2 separate regions of the Homo sapiens genome follow, and region 1 is linked to region 2. The links are contacts of gene promoters, found by promoter capture Hi-C in human tissues and cell types (Jung and others, 2019). All regions are on one chromosome and are shown on one strand. The core of a region is centred on a gene start or on the middle of the fragment in contact, and the rest is flanking DNA. Distances in the headings are between cores, read along the strand shown.

Region 1 (5,468 bases), core at 2,451-4,950, 150 kb after region 2:
AAAAGCACCAGGCCAGGCACAGTGGCTCACACCTGTAATCCTAACACTTTGGGAGGCTGAGGTGGGAGGATCATTTGAGCCCAGGAGTTTGAGACCAACCTGGGCAACACAGTGAGACCCCCGTCCCTACAAAAGAATTTTTTTTAAATTAGCCAGGCATGGTGGTGCTTCTGTAGTCCTAGTTACTTGGGAGGCTGAGGTGGGAGGATTGCTTGAGCCCAGGAGGTCGAGGCTGCAGTGAACCATGATTGTGCCACTGCACTCCAGCCTGGCAACACAGTGAGACCCTATCTCAAAAAAAGAAAAAAAAGGCACCAGAAATGTTAAATATGTGGGTAATTAGAAAGTACTATTTTTTCATTTTAATCTTTAAAATACAATATGACTATTCAAAGCAAGAATTAGCATTGTATGGTAAGGTTTAAAGTATATGCAGATGTGATACATATGACAACTATAGTATAAAGGTTGGAGGGTAGGAAATGGGCCTAAATGGTTGCAAGCTTTTTACATTTTATGTGAAGTGTATAATTTTAACTCTAAGAAGCCTGGAAAATTAAAGATATATTTTATAGTCCCTAGAACAGAGAGAAATAGACAAATCAACAGTCATATTTGGAGATTTTAATACTCCTTTTTCAGCAACTAAACAACTAGTCAAAAATTAGTATATCCATAGATCTGAATGACATTGTCAACTACCTTGATTTAATTAACATTTATTAAACAGTACACTTGAGAACTGCAGAATACCTAGAAGCAGTTTCTCCACTACTTATTGAATCTCCCCCTGTTTCTGCCCACCTGCCTCCACTCCCGCCTCCACCATGTCCATCAGGGTGACCCAGAAGTTCTACAGGGTGTCCACCTCTGGCCCCGGACCTTCAGCAGCCACTCCAACATGAGTAGGCCTGGTGCCTGCGTCAGTTCCTCGAGCTTCTCCCAAGTGGGCAGCAGCAGCAGTGTCCAGGGTGTCCTGGGTGCCAGCATGGGTCTGGGTGGAGGCTATGGCCGAGCTGGTGGTTATAGGAGGCATCACAGCCATCATGGTCAACCAGAGCCTGCTGAGCCCCCTTAAGCTGGAGGTGGACCCCAACATCCAGGCCGTGTGCACTCAGGAGAAGGAGCAGATTAAGACCCTCAACAAGTTTGCCCCCTTCATCGCGGTTCCTGAAGCAGCAGAACAAGATGCTGGAGACCAAGTAGAGCCTCCTGCGGCAGCAGAAGACAGCTTGGAGCAGCATGGACAACATGTCCAAGAGCTACATCAACAAACCTCCGTGGCAGCTGGACACTCTAGGCCAGGAGAAGCTGAAACTGGAGGCAGATCTTGGCAACATGCAGGGGCTGGTGGAGGACTTCAAGAACAAGTACGAGGATGAGATCAGTAAGCATACAGAGATGGAGAATAAAATTGTCCTCATCAAGAAGGATGTGGATGAGGCATACATGAATAGGGTGGAGCTGGATGGAGTCTTACCTGGATGGCAAGCTTACAAGATCAGCTTCCTCAGGCAGCTGTATGAAGAGGAGATCTGGGAGCTCCAGTCCCAGATCTTGGACACATCTGTGGGGCTGTCCACGCATAACAGCTGCTCCCTGGACACGGACGGCATCATTGCTGAGGTCGAGGCCCAGTATGAGAAGATCGCCAACCGCAGCCAGGCCAAGGCTGACAGCATGCACCAGATCAAGTATGAGGAGCTGCAGACCCTGCCTGGGAAGCACAGGATGACCTGCGTTGTACAAAGACGGAGATCTCCAAGATAAACTGGAACATCAGCCGGCTCCAGTCTGAGACAGAGGGCCTCAAAGGCCAGAGGGCTTCCCTGGAGGCCGCCATTGTGTATGTGTGGGGAGCGGTCCATTAAGGATGCCAATGCCAGGGGGTCCAAGCTGGAGGCCGCCCTACAGTGGGCCAAGCAGGACGTGGCGCGTCAGCTGCTCAAGTACCAGGAGCTGATGACCATCAAGCTGGCCCTGGACATTGAGATCGCCACCTACAGGAAGTTGCTGGAGGGCAAGGAGAGCCAGCTGAAGTCTGGGATGCAGAGCATGAGTATCCATATGAAGACCACCAGGGGCTACTCAGGTGGGCTGAGCTCAGCCTACAGGGGCCTTACAAGCCCTGGCCTCAGCTATGGCTTGGGATCCAGCTTTGGCTCTGGCGGGGGCTCCAGCTCCTTTGGCTGTGCCTGCTTCTCTAGGGCTGTGGTTGTGAAGAAGATCAAGACCACGATGGGAAGCTGGTGTCCCAGTCCTCTGATGTCCTGCCCAGGTGAAAGGCCATAGCAGCCCCTCCCAGCCTACCCCCTCCCATGGCTTCTCCAGAGCCTGTGGAGGAGGCCACTGTGCAGGGGAGTATAGGGAACAGGAGACCCACCTGAGGCTCAGCCCTAACCCTCAGCCCACCCATGGGGAGTTTACTGCCTGGGATACCCCCCTTGCCCATGCCTCCAGCTACAAAACAATTACATCATTTTTTTTTCCTCCAAAATAAAGCCTCAGCCAGATCTGCAAAGCAAAACAAAACAAACAAAGAAAACCAACAAAAACCAGAACATACATATGTCTCAACTACACATGGCACATTCACCAAGAACACCAGTCTTAATACTTTTAAAAGGACTACAGTCACACAGACTGTGTTCTCTGACTGTAGTGCAATGGAATTTGACTTCAATAACAAGTTAGCTAAAGAATTCCCGAATTCCCCCAAATATCTGGAAATTAAACACTTATAAATAACCAGTGGATCACAGAAGACTCGAGGGAAATTAGAACTGAATTATAATCAAAACATCAGCATTTATGAGATGCAGCTAAAGCAATGCTTACAGGAAAACTTATAGCTTTAAATGTTTACAATTAGAAAAGAAGAAAGGAATAAAGTCAGTCACTAAAATTTCACCTTAAGAGGGCAGAAGCAGAGTAAGTTAAGCCCAAAGTAGAGGGAAGAAGCACTTTTGAACAAGTTCTAGTTTCACTGTGTTGAAACTAGATATATGCCTCCTACCCTATAACCCAGTAATTCCACACCTAGGTATTGACTCAAGAGACATGAAAGCATATGACCACAGAAATACTTGTGCAAGGATGATCATGCTCCAGTCTAATCATGAGAAAAACAAACACATCCCAGTTGAGGGACATTCTACAAAATACCTGACCAGTACTCAAAACTGTCAAGATCATCAAAACAAGGAAAGTCTGAGAAACTGTCCCAACCAAGAGGAGCCTAAGGAGACAAGATGACTAAATGTAATGTGGGATCCTGGAAGGGATCCTGCAACAGAAAAAGGACATTAGATGAAAACTAAGGAAATCTGAATACTTAGATAGTAATAATGTATGAATATATATTCATTAATTATAACTGATGTACCATACTAATATAAGATGTTAATAATAGGGGAAATTGGGTGTGGGGTATATGGGAACTCTCTGTGCTATCTTTGCAATTTTTCCATAAATTTAAAACTACTCTAAAATTTAAAAGTTTATTATTTTAAAAAGGAATATCATAGTAGTTTGACTTATAAATAGCCCAAACTGGAAACAGTCTAGGTGTCCATCAATAGGAGAATGGATAAACAAACTGGGATATTCATATGGAATACTACTTAGCAATAAAAAAGAATGAACTACTGATAAACACCACAGAATGGATGTATCTCAAAACATTATGTTGAGTGAAAGAAGCCTCGGGCAAAATAATTTATACCATATGTCTGTGTGATTCTGTTTTTATGAAGTTCTAAAATAGGCTAAACTAATCTATGGTGGAAAAAGTCAAAACAGTAGTTGTCTCTGGAGTATGTGGGTGGGAATTGACTAGGAAGAGATGTGAGGGAGCTTTTCTGGGATGATGGTAATGTTCTGTATCTTGATAGGGGTTTGCATTACATGAGGATATGCATTTTTAAAAACTCATTGAATGGTACACTTAAGATCCATGCATATCACTGTATGTAAAATTTACTTTTTAAAATCTTGTAAACAGATATTGAATTTTAGTTAATAATAATCATGCTGAAATGTTAGGACTGAGGTATACTGATATCTGCAACTTATTTTGCAATGCGTTGAAAAAGCTGGATCGATGAATGGATTGAGAGATGAATGGGTGGAAACATATGTGAGAAAGCAAAAATAGCAAAATGTTAATTGTAGAATCCAGAGGGTGAGTAATGGATGTTCAACTGTGCAGTTCTTTTTTTAAAATTTTTTATTGATACATAATATTTTACATATTTATGGGGCACATGTGATATTTTGTTACATGCATAGAATATATAATAATCAAGTCAGGGAATTTGGAATGTTTATCACCTTGAGTATTTATCATTTCTATGTGTTGGAAACAATTCAAGTCCTCTCTTCTAGCTATTTTGAAATATATAATACGTCGTTGTTAACTATAGTCACCCTACTCTGCTGTCAAACATTAGAGCTTATGCCTTCTATGTAACTATATGTTTTACCCATTAACTAATCTCTCTTCATCCCCCATTCCCACCCACACACCCTGTCTATCATTCTACTTTCCACCTCCATGAGATCAACGTGTTTACTGTCATATATGAATGAGAACATGTGATATTTGTCTTTCTGTGCCTGACTTATTTCACTTAACATAGTGACTTCCAGCTCCATCCATATTGCTGCAAATGACATGATTTTATTCTTTTTAATTGCTGAATAGTATTTCATTATATATATGTACATATATATGTACATATATATATATATACCACTTTGAACTCTTTTTTTCTATGTGTTCATAATAAAATATTGGGGAAGAATAAAGAATATATGAAATTATTTCTAATGGAACCCACTTTTTGCATATTGTTCTTGGTGTAAGTAGATCTCTGGCAGAAAGTTCTTAGAGTAACATTGCTGCATCAATATTTTTTTTTCATGCTCCTTGAAAGGCTTTTAGGGAGAATATAGAGAAAGAGTAATCTTGCTCTGAAAGAGGAATTCTGCTGTTAAGTTTTCCGAAATGGTATCCCTTATTAAATTTGGAATGCTCAAACCTGTAGAAATGTACCCTAAGTAGCTAATATTTATAACCTCTTTCTTTTCAGATATACAAACAAATGCGGAACTGAAAAGCACTCAGGAGCAGTCTGTGCCCGCAGGTAACATCAGGTCTTTCCTCTCTGGAAATATACCTTTACTAAAAAAAATACCAAAGAGAGAGGAATGTGCTTATTCTGGTTGCAGTAAAAATGCTATGGAAATGTGTGTGTGTTTTTTTTTAAATATGGTTGTCTGTTGCTGATGAAAAAATAACTCATCCATTTAGATCATGTAAGTTCTTTAGCATCTTAGGGCCAAACATACACTACCTAATGTTGATCACTGTTTGTTTGTTTGTTTGTTTGTTTTTGATTTTTCAGCTCATTGCTCTGAAGACAGTTTTTGTTGAATAATATAGTAGCTTGTATTTGAATGACTTG
Region 2 (5,801 bases), core at 2,125-4,624:
TCGCCCAGGCCGGAGTGCAGTGGTGTGATCTCGGCTCACTGCAAGCTCTGCCTGCTGGGTTCACACCATTCTCCTGCCTCAGCCTCCCGAGTAGCTGGGACTACAGGCACCCGCCACCACGCCTGGCTAAATTTTTTGTATTTTTAGTAGAGACGGGGTTTCACCGTGTTAGCCAGGATGGTCTCGATCTCCTGACCTCGTGATCTGCCCGCCTTGGCCTCCCAAAGTGCTGGGATTATAGGCGTGAGCCACCGTGCCGGCCAGGCAAGGAGTTCTAAGGAGCCTCTCACAGAGGGGCAAAATGCGACCACTCACCTTTTCTGCCCTAATGGGGTCCATAATATTTACAGATTCCACACACTGATTTTAAGACATAACCAAGTGGCAAGAAAAACATACAGTGGGGGTGCAGGATGGGGTAGAGGATGACAGAGGAAGAAAAGAAAAACCAATTAACTACAGAAACCTGGAGTCCAGATTTATCAGATCTTAATGGAAAAGACTTTCTAAATGTGAACAATGGGAGAAATCACATACGCACAAAAGATTAATGGGCTTGACTTCATTTAAAAAAACCCTTTTAGATAACTGTGTATACAAAAGAAAAATATTTTCAACAAATGTGATCAAAGATTCATATTTTTATTCTATAAAGAGCTTGTATAAATGGTTAAGAGATATAATGGTATAATGATTATATTGCCACAATTTCAAAACAAAAATGGAGACGAACTAACATACAAAGAGGAAAAATAGCTAACAGACAAAAATTATATTCCATTAGTATTTGAGTAATTGCAAATGGAAACATTTTTAAACTACCAAATTTGTAACATTAAAAAAATTATAGGTGGGGCACAGTGGCTCACGCCTGTAATCCCAGTACTTTGGGAGGCTGAGGAGGGCGGATCATTAAGGGTAGCAGTTGGAGACCAGCCTGGCCAACATGGTGAAACCCAGTCTCTACTAAAAATAAAAAAATTAGCCGGGCGTGGTGGTGGGTGACCGTAATCCCAGCTACTCGGGAAGCTGAGGCAGGAGAATCGCTTGAACTTGGGAGGCAGAGGTTGCAGTGAGCCGAGATCGCGCCATTGCACTCCAGCCTGGGCAACAGAGCGAGACTCCGTCTCAAAAAAAAAAAAAAATTATAGAGTACAGTGAAAACTACATTTCTCCTGGTATAATGTAAATCAGCACAGTTTTTCTGGACAATAACTATCAAAAACCTTTAAAATGTTCAGCCTTTTAAACTCAGGCATATAGGTTTTGGTGGGAATCTGTACTGAAGAAATAATTAGAAAAGTAGATTTTTTAAGTTGGGCACAAAGATGATTGCTTCAAAGCTATTTATGATAGCAAGAAACTAGAAACAGTTTAAATGCAAAGCAATAAGGGAATGCAATCAATGAGTAGTTTCTTAGGCACTTCTGTATATTCACCGATTAGCACAGGGTATCTGGGCCACACTAATGATATAAATAATAACAGCTGATATTTATGTGCTAGGCACAGTTTTAAGCATTTTAATGTTCACAACAACCCAATAAAGTACTGTACTATTACTTGTATTTATACAGATGAGGGAACTAATTCCAGAACTTGTACTCTTAACCATTATATTGGGTATTCAATAAATGTTTCTGGAATAAATTGAATGCTGATTATGTTTACGAATGTTAATGAAAACACATAAAATTCAAAATTTATATTTAGTTATGCCTTGATACAAACTGTATACATAACTTGCTCTCAATTATAGGAGAACAGCTCAAAAATTCACAAGAAAAAATGTTAACCATGTTTTTTATCCCCTGCTTTTAACTTCTCATACATTCCACAATTTCTGCAATGAATATGAATTACTTTACAAGAAGAAAATGAAGTGCCTGTAATAAACACACCCAGTAGGCAATGCTGAGTGGCACCTTTGACATTGCTGCCACTACTTTAGGTAAAAGGATCTCTATTAAATATCGATCCTGTTGCTCAACTTTACAGTAAGAGCTGATGTAGTCAACACCATCACATCCTCAAAAGCACCACCTAGGAGGATAACTTTGCTTATCTCAATGTTTTTGAGCTAGTTTCTCACGCATTTTAGTGAAAAGAAAACCTAGTAAGTAGTCTGGTCCCACTTGATCCAGAACCAGGAAAATGGCACCAGGATCACAGTGGGAAGCTCTCACTTTGCCCACTTCAAATGGAAACAGGACGCTGTAAGTGGGAAAAGTAAAACATGAACTTGGAGGAACAAGAGGACTACAGACACTCGAAACAGGAACCTCGGAGAAAAGAAATAGGAGACACCGGTATATAGGAGTTTAGGCCAAAGGTTGAGTATTACAAAACCAAACAAAGATGACACCCGAAAAGTTTTAAGTGTGTATGTACTTAAACCCTTTAGAAACAGAGGGGCAGTAAGGACCTGAAGGGAGGAGACAGCAAGGGGACTGTTGGGACACTTCAGTTAGAGAAGTAGGAAACAAGATACTAGGTCGAAATGGTTCATTCGGGGGAGTGTGCTAAAGGCAGCTAGGACAACAAAAATCTGCTGTACAGTTTTAAAACTCAGGAGTCAATATTCTAGGTCATCCTGGCCCTGTTTACACACAGACACAAACACTGGTTTCCAGCGGGAACAATCAGTCATATATTGGAGGCGCTAAAATCAGTCGGGTGGGATATAAACGGAATAGGTCAGAGGGGAGGACTTAAAAGAGGGAGTCCCCAGGCCCACTGGGACCTAGATATAGATGCAACCCCAGATATGGGGATGGAGGGGATGGGAGGGGAGTGGTTCCCAGCCTGGAGAGAAGGTTCAGTCATTGGGCCTGGAGTCGGGAGTGTCGGGGCAGTGGGAGCAGGTATCTGGGGGTGATCCCAAAGAACTGAGGGTGGTGGAGGCTGCTGTGGCTTCCCAGCAAGAAGCCAAATCACAGGGGTCGCTGTCACCCGCGATCGCGGCACGTTCCCGGCCTGGGCTGCCGTACCCTCCAAGGTGACTGTGTCCAGCTCTCGCTGGGAGTGCTCAGCCGCTGCCGCCGCCGTCTTGCCGTCTGCCTCCCCCGTCGACCCGCCACCCGTCGCTGCCTCCTCTTTCATCTCCACATCCTGGGGGGCCGGCGGCGGTGGGGGTTCTTGTTCTCCTCCGCCGGGCGGCGGTTTCGCCTTGTCCGCGCCGCGGCGCCGCGCCGAGCCCTCCTGCTTCATGGCACCCGGGGTCACGGCCTAGTCCGGGGACCGAGGCCGGGGCCTCGCGTTAACCCTCGCACCGGGGACCAGGAGCCGAGCCGGGCCTGCACACGAGCGCGAGATAGCGTCGGGCCGCACGATGACGGAGCAGCTGCAAACCCCTTCCCGGCGCTGGGCCTTCTGGGAAACGCCAGGCCCGGCAGGCCGATGGCCGAGTCAACAAAGGGGAAATAAATCCACAGCCGAGGTGCAGGATGAAGGAGGAGCTTCGAGGAAGGAGCGGGGAGGAGCCTTTATGGGTTCGTGGGGCTTTCTTTCGAGCGCTTAAGTGTGATGCTTTTATGTTCCTCTCGAGTGCATTTCTGTGGGCGTCCACGAGAGGTCCCCTCAGGCTCCAATCTGGGTTACAAAGGACTTTAAGAGCGCCTCAACCAGCGTGGAGTGGGTACAGCCTATCCGAGCGCGGGACGAGATGACGTCACGAGTTGCCGGGCGGGTTTTGCGCCCAAGTTCGCTCAATTTTCCCCGGTCGCGGCGGGGTCTCCTTCCAGATCCGCTGGGCTTGTGCTCAACGGCTGCCGGGCGCATCCGGCAGGAGGGAAGGAAAGAAGGCTGTGAAGGAGGGACGTGAAGCTAGGGCTGTTGGCCTTAAAATAAACCGAACTGGAGAGTAGGAAGAACCCTATGGGATCCGGACTTCCTTGGTTAGATTTGAGTTTAGTGCTGAACATAAGGCATACAATTTCTGCAGGCTGGGAGTGCCGATAGGTAGGAGCGTGCATTTGCGTAGAATCACTCCAGTTTAACAAAATATAGGGGTCCACCCTATGTACGGCCCACGGTTAGCAAATAGGGGGGTGAAAAACAGCTCAAGAATGTAGTATACGGGGGAGTCAGATGGTTAGATAAGCAGACACTGTGCTCTGGGCTGCGGTGGATTGGGAGTGTTGAGGAAAGAGGGTGGGAGCCCCTACTGGCAGACGCTTTAGGGAGCCCATTGAGAGGGCTTTTATACATCCAGACAGACATTGTGAAATGGGGAACAGAATAATGGTGTGCCTAAGGAGAGAATGATGGTTTACTTAGTGGTGTACCTAAGGGGAAGCAAATTGGACAAGAAACCCTACCCACTTATTTTTCAAAGGACTGCCCCACTGGTTCTGCAGGGAAGGTGAAACAAGGTGAAGGATATAGCTCCCAATTTCTTAGAACACACAACAAAAACTCTCTCCCTACCTTGAAACTTTTCTCTCTCCCATAAGTGGAAGTCCTGAGTTTTAGACCTTTCACGGACCCTACAAGACAATCTAGCCCTGTTGTAAGGACCTAGAAGGCAGGAAATATGTTTTGACCTCCTCCTTTGCATATATAAAGGGTATCCTGCATATCTTTTGCATCCTCTTTCATAGGATTGCAGGATGTTCCTTGCGTTAAACAGCCACTCGCTAACTGGAAAGATATGTGCTCTAGTTTTAGGGAACATGCCTTGACCAGTTCCTCCTCAACTGTCCTCTCACCCTCCAGGGCTGGGGGGTGGATAACAGGACTTTTGAATCATCATTGGAATAAACTCATTAGAACCTCTTCATAACACCATATCTGCAACTGAAGGTGGGCGAGAATGGTAAGGAAGAAAACAGATGAGTTATGTTCATCCTTAACAATCAAAGGAGTTACTCTTCTAGATAGTTAGGGTGTTAGCTCATCTCTCTATTAAGTTTACATCACAAGGAGAAAACAACCAAGTCAGCAGATAACAACCCAGTATATCCATGAGCAATAGAGTGAGGCTTTGGAAGGTGCTCAGGATCAGGGAGGCTGGCGGCATAACACAAAGCTTCTGGCAGTTGGTCATGAATTCTTGGTGGATGAGGGAACCAGGCTGGGCAGGGGGTGACTAAGACACTGGGGGAGAGTCTGACTCCACGGACCAAAATCCTTAGAGAAATTCTTCCACTCATAAAACTTTTTTTTTTTTTTAAACGGAATCTCGTTCTGTTGGCCAGGCTAGGGAGTACAGTGTCGTGATCTTGGCTCACTGCAACCTCCCCCTCTGGGGTTCAAGCGATTCTCCTGCCTCCTTCTCCTGAGTAGCTGGGACTACAGGTGCGAGCCACCATGTCCAGCTAATTTTTAATTTTTTTTTTTTTAATTTTTAGTAGAGACAGGGCTTCACTATGTTGATTAGGCTGGTCTTGAACTCCTGACCTCAGGTGATCCTCCTGCCTCGGCCTTGCAAAGTGCTGGGATTACAGACATGTACTGCACTCATAGAACTACTTTTTTAAAAATTATTTTTATTTTTTGAGACAGGATCTCGCTCCATCACCCAAGCTGGAGTGCAGTGGTGCTATCTTGGCTAACTGCAGCCTCAGCCTCCCAGGCTCAAGTGATCCTCTAACCTCAGCCTCCCGAGTAGCTGGGACCACAGACACATGCCACCATGCCTGGCTAATTTTTGGTATATTTTGTAGAGATAGGGTTTCGCCCTGTTGCCCAGGCTGGTCTTGAACTCCTGGATTCAAGCGATCTGCCCACATTAGCCTCCCAAAGTGCTGGGATTACAGGCGTGAGCTACGGTGTCCGGTCCTGATACTGCTTTAAAAGAG

What was found. The method cuts DNA at HindIII sites, captures the fragments that hold promoters and counts their contacts. A contact is called where the count stands out against the background at its distance.
Region 1: a fragment that was not itself captured here is called in contact with the fragment with the promoter of PSMD3 in region 2 in 1 of the 25 tissues and cell types used here (IMR-90 fibroblasts).

Annotation. Positions count from the first base shown.
Region 1 is chr17:39,831,777-39,837,244 of GRCh38, reverse strand. IKZF3 (IKAROS family zinc finger 3) reads left to right here. Exons shown (of 8, transcript NM_012481.5): 2 at 5,094-5,147. It also overlaps the pseudogene KRT8P34. Among named protein-coding and RNA genes, the nearest start is that of IKZF3, 30 kb to the left of the region's middle. RefSeq lists an enhancer at 1,350-1,849. The HindIII fragment of the contact is 5,404 bases long and covers 999-5,468 here.
Region 2 is chr17:39,978,380-39,984,180 of GRCh38, reverse strand. It overlaps PSMD3 (proteasome 26S subunit, non-ATPase 3), which reads right to left and starts at 3,374. Exons shown (of 12, transcript NM_002809.4): 1 at 2,991-3,374. The coding sequence starts at 3,210. RefSeq lists a silencer at 3,034-3,083 and enhancers at 2,486-3,463, 3,264-3,543, 3,764-3,943, 4,365-5,564. The HindIII fragment of the contact is 7,545 bases long and covers 1-5,742 here.